2 separate regions of the Homo sapiens genome follow, and region 2 is linked to region 1. Evidence: promoter capture Hi-C in 16 types of primary human blood cells and fetal thymus (Javierre and others, 2016). All regions are on one chromosome and are shown on one strand. Each heading gives the region's core, a stretch centred on a gene start or on the middle of the fragment in contact. The rest is flanking DNA. Distances are from core to core; before and after follow the strand shown.

Region 1 (2,788 bases), core at 94-2,593:
TCATTTGTAAGTTGAAAATAATACCAAACTCCAGGGTTTTGTGAGGATAAAGTGTTTGGCACAATGTAAAGCACAGAATAAATGCTCAACACACATGAATACTGCCATAAACATTACTTCGCCTTCCTGCAGACCAACTCCGACTCTGCATGAAACAGAAAATCAGAACATTTATTTGGTACTAATCAAATTTCTTTTCATAATCTTTTACGGATAGACAATACCATTGTATCCCCATTTTAAGAGGCAGTCTTTCAGTCTTTTCAAAGCATAACTTTGAAGCCAGAATTGCCTCGGTTAGATTTCTTCTTATTATTATTATGATGATTTGAGACGGAGTCTCGCTCTTGTTGCCCAGGCTGGAATGCAATGGCACTAACTCCGCTCACCCGAACTCGGCTTACAGCAACCTCCGCCTCCCGGGTTCGAGCGATTCTCCTGCCTCAGCCTCCGAAGTAGCTAGGATTACAGGCATGCACCACCACGCCCGGCTAATTTTGTATTTTTAGTAGAGACGGGGTTTCTTCATGTTGGTCAGGCTGGTCTGGAACTCCTGACCTCAGGTGATCTGCCCGCCTCGGCCTCCCAAAGTGCTGGGATTACAGGCATGAGCCACGGTGCCCGGCTCTTCTTATACTTATTATTTGCTTGCCTTAGACAAGTAACTTCACCTCTCCAAGCCTGCATTCTAATGCAAAACGAACACCAATACCTATTTTATGAATTATTGTAATAATTAAACGAGGTAATACCATACCTGAAGTATCTTTAATGCAGCAGATGTCAAAAGTGGTAGCCGCAATTATTTTTATTTTGTAAGGGAGGATTAAACACATTTAAATAGGACATCACAGGAGCGGAGCTGGATCCCAGGTCAGCCTGATTCCTAGGCCGGCGTTCCTTATTGATTACAACATAAGGCAAACAAGTCGTCTTTGGAGAGAGAGGTTGGGGAGAGAAGAATGTTTAATTTCTCCATGCCCTTCAATGACATGTATAACCTTCACTGTTGACCATTTGGCCAGATTGTTGAATTATGTTTTGCTCTCTGGCAACTTGGGGTGTGGAACGTACAATAAAAACGCCTTCACACTAATAACCTCCAGGCCTGTCCCCAGGATTCTACAGCATGAGCTTTGTGGGTAAAGAGAGCTCACCAAATTCAGCCTCCAGCAGCACACACAGCTCAGTAGCAGCGCCCCGCCCAGATGTTTATATTTTCCTCCATCGGCCCCGCCCCCCGACCATGAGGGGCTCTAGCCACGCCCCCAAGCTCAAGTTTCTGGGGCCGGACTAGCCCAGCGCGTCTGCCTACCCATAGGGATTCCCTCTCCAGCCAATCCAGTCAGAGCAGCGGAGCTGCCCCGAACAAAGATGGCGCGGGAAGCGTCTGTGAGGGCAGACTGATCCGAGCACCCAAACCCTCGGCGGACAGCGGAGCCAGTGGTAGCCGCACGGCCCTAAAACCATGGAGGAGGGCGGCAGCACTGGCAGTGCTGGCAGTGACAGCAGCACCAGCGGGAGTGGCGGGGCGCAGCAAAGGGAGCTGGAGCGCATGGCTGAGGTCTTGGTCACCGGGGAACAGCTACGGTAAGGCAAGAGACACAGCGGGTGAGCTCACGATGGCACTGCCAACGCGTGCCCGCTGCAGTCCTGCGCGCACGCGCTCCCTGGCTCGTGGCTTGCGACTCGCGTGGGGCGCCGGAACGGCTGCGGGCGCGTGGATGGTCCTCGGTGCGCCCGCGCTTAGCTGCTGCAGCCTCGGTCCCTGAGGACTCGCTCGCCAAGCGGGGCTGCCTGGCAGAAGCCGACGAGCGGGTGGTGCGCGCTGCGCCCTAGCCTGGCTGCTGCAGTCCTGTGCCGGGCAAAGTCCCTGCCACCCACCGCGCTGTCCGTCTTCCCGTGTACCTGGACGCCGCCAGGCCTCCCGGCTGACAGCCTGCGCCTCATCCGCGAAGAGAGCAAGAGGGGTCGCTGTGGGGTCCCGAGGCGACCCCAGCCCCTCTACTCCTTGATAAAAGGAGCAAGACCAACGATAGTCTTCACTAGGTTTTCCTTTTTGCTGACAAGTCTTCCTTCACTCCCCTGAGCCTCGGTGTTTTACATCTGTAAAACAGGGCTGATTCAAGGGCTTTTTGTGAGGTTAAACTGAGAGAGCATTTCTGAAACCCTGCACCTATCAGTTAATTGGCACATCGTCCTCAATCATTTGGGTCCGCAAGGGGGCGTGGAGGCACCTTGTCGGGCTGCCTTGAGGCTGTGCCAACTCCCCGGGCTCGCACGTTTTGGGCAGCAGGATCCATGGGGACCCTGGCTCCTGCAAGAATTAAGACTTGCGGCGTCTCACGGAACTTGGGAACAAGGACGACCCCCAGAATCCCCCTTGCCATTCCCATCCCTGTATGGTCCTTCCTCTAGGGCTGTTTGGGAATAGTACTTATGGTCTAACTGGTTCTGCAGCTGCCCTTCGTGTGGTTATAAATCAGTTTGCCAGGAAAAAGAAAACCCAGCTCTGCAGCGTTTGAGCCACAACTTGTACGCGGGCCCCTGTTACTTCTAGTTCTTAGCCTGAATTCCCCAGCTTGTTTTGGTTTCTAAATGTCTGTGTTTCAGGACCTGAAAGAGTGTCTTGCAAAGGTCTCTGAAGGAGACCAATATTGGAAGTCAGAATTAACTGATTTTTAATGTTACAAAAGGCAAATTGCACCTATCGATTCTTTGTTGATTTTTAAAAATACGTGGTCAGAATTAAAGGGAATAAAAACTTTTTTTCCTTCATCAAAAGTAC
Region 2 (2,788 bases), core at 194-2,693, 240 kb after region 1:
TGGGAATAGAAAAGTGTTCATATGGTTTAACATCAGAAAAAGGGCAGAATTAGGAAAATTCTATTTGGGTGTCAGGGAATAATACAAGAGCAAACTTTTAGGAAGTGCTTACTAAGTAATAGGTGAAGAGCCTTCCAGATATTATAAAATTAAATCTCCTAAACACGATAAGAGGTAACTATAACTACCATGCTACAATGTGGATAAAGTAACATGTCTGGCTCTGACTTCAGAACTCACATCCTTAATCTACATTATAAAGTTTGTCCAGGAGGTTGAGTGGACATAAGATAGGAAAGTTAGGCTAAGGCAGACACGGAGGAACTTGATTACTAAGCTAATATATTTACACCTTATTCTGTTTAAAGGAGCCACCACTGGGAGGATCAGAGCAGGTGAAGGATGTAAGTAAAGTGGGTTTGCTCCTGCAGGAATATACAGACTGTTGATCTCAACCTTGGCTGTGTGCTAGAATCACTGAGAAGATTCTGATAAAATACCCATGTCTGCCCCTGCTCCTGGTCAGCTAAATAAGACACTCTGGGTTGCTCATTTCCCTCATTTACTTAAAACTTTCCATTGCCAAGATATAGTCAAAATACTTACCTTGGCATACAAGGTTGTCCAAGGTCTGATCCTTGTTCACCTCTTGTGTCTCACATCACCCATCTTTATTTATTTATTTATTTATTTATTTATTTATTTATTTAGAGACAGGGTCTTGCTCTGTCACCCAGGCTGGACTGTGGTGGCGTGATCTGGGCTCACTGCAACCTGTGCCTCCCAGGCTCAAGCGATCCTCCCATCTCAGCCTCCAGAGTACCTAGGACTATAGGCACGTGTCATCATGCCTGGCTAATTTTTAATTATTATTATTATTATTATTATTATTATTATTTTGTAGAGATAAGGTCTTATTCCCAGGCTGGTTCCCAACTCCTGGGCTCAAGTGATCCTCCCAAAGTCTTGGGATTACAAAGGCTCTGAGCCACTCCACCTGGTCTTAAGTCTCTCCTCTGATTTCACCAAACTCTGCTCATTCAAAATAATTTGGGCCTATGCAAGCTCTCTCTTGCCCGATGACTTTGTTTTCTTGTTCTTTTTTTCAATTGTTTGGTTGAAAACCCAAGGACTTAATAAAAGCTTTTCTTTCTTTTCAGAATGCTTTTGTTTCATATCTTCTCAAGGCTGGCTGTCTCTCTTTTTGTCAGCCTAAAGGTCACCTCCTCACCTATGTACTTCTTGATCATTCTACCTGAATAAGTTGCATAATACCTGCACTCTTGCCCCTCAGCCCGCTACCATCAGAGCACTTCATGTTTTGTCAGTGTGTGTTTGTGTAGCTGGACTCTAGACTCCACAAGGCCAACGGACTTGTTTTGCTCACCCCATGCATACTCAGAGCCCAGCAGTAATATCTGTGGCATAAGTTAATGAGAAGGCATATCTTGAATAACTTAGTTAATGTCACCCAACTCATGAGGGCAAAGCCTGGAGACGAACACAAGCTCGAAACCATCATGGTGCTCTGCTGGAATATGGTGGTTTGCTCATTCATTCTTGCTTTTGTTCATTCATTCAGAGAACATGTTTTGGATTGATAATATATGCTAAGCCAGGTGCTAGGGACACAGATAAAATGGTCATTGATCCTGAGAACATAATCTGGACAACTTTAAGTGAATACAGTCACAGAGGGAGCAGGGCACTGCCAACTGATTTCAGTGCTCAGCTTGGTTTCCTCTAAGCTTCTGTACTGAGGCTATTACAGGGTAGAGAAATTCTCAGTCTAGTGGCCCATGGTGAATTTTCAGACAAATCTGAAGGTTTTGGATTGAAATAGTAAAAAGTTTGAGAACAAAAGTTTCATCAATTAATTAACACGTCAAAGGGCACAGATCAGAAGAGATACTAACTTGAACCACAACTTACATGAATAACAGCTGAAAACAAAACAAATAACAAATTTCGCAGAACACTTCACCACAGCATAATGAACAGAATTTTCCAAAACCTAGACCCATATGAGATTTTCTATCTCATGCGTTCTCTGTCTCTCTGCTCTCTCAATTCTCTAAAAGAAGAGATCTCTGTGGTTTTCTCTTTATTTCTAGCTCTGTGTGCTTCTCATTTCTCTGGAAAATCTAAAATGTCCTCAGAGAGGACTTTCTGGCCCTCTTCAATCTTCCCAAGGCTGATTCTTGAAATGCTGCCTTAGGATGTCTTTCCTTTGGTTTAAAGTTTTGCTCCTATTAATATTTTAAATTTCTTTGTAGTCTCAGTGGATATATCTTGGTGGTTATATGTTATCCAAAATTTTTTTCTGGGGTGTAGGTTCTTGGAGGAAGTCTCACCAGAGGCCTGAGGCTAGCCTTGGTGAATCTATGGACTATGCTGTATATGGAAGCAACAGCCTGAATAGCAGGAAATAATCTGAGACGTAGCTTTAGGCTCGATGTACAATGCAATCACCACTTCTTTCTTTTCCTTTAGCAACATATTGGCTTGACCAATAGGCAACAGGTAACAGGTAACAATGCTTCATCCTTGTCATCAGTTTTTACTGTTTTTTGGGGGTGTGTGTTATTATTGTGGCTTCTTCAGAATAGTCAAGTAATTTTCCTTAAAAGAGAAAAAATAGGCAACATGAAATTAAGTTGATTAAAAGAATGTGAATGGGAAAATAGATCAGCATAGTGTTAAGGATATTAGCTTTGGTGACATTTGAATTCTCACTTCCATTTACAGACTCCATAGTAATCTTGGTAATCTCCTCTCTCCACCCTAG

What was found. Contacts are between HindIII fragments. The CHiCAGO score rates a contact against its expected background, and 5 or more counts as called.
Region 2: a fragment that was not itself captured here is called in contact with the fragment with the promoter of DEPTOR in region 1 in 6 of 17 cell types (M1 macrophages, erythroblasts, M0 macrophages and 3 more); the score reaches 7.7 in M1 macrophages.

The regions. Positions count from the first base shown.
Region 1 is chr8:119,872,379-119,875,166 of GRCh38, forward strand. DEPTOR (DEP domain containing MTOR interacting protein) reads left to right here and starts at 1,344. Exons shown (of 9, transcript NM_022783.4): 1 at 1,344-1,590. The coding sequence starts at 1,469. RefSeq lists enhancers at 1,171-1,465, 1,206-1,706, 1,382-1,641, 1,707-2,207, 1,842-1,941 and 1 more and a silencer at 1,190-1,362. The HindIII fragment of the contact is 2,864 bases long and covers 1-2,788 here.
Region 2 is chr8:120,112,391-120,115,178 of GRCh38, forward strand. No RefSeq gene overlaps it. Among named protein-coding and RNA genes, the nearest start is that of COL14A1, 11 kb to the right of the region's middle. The HindIII fragment of the contact is 605 bases long and covers 1,142-1,746 here.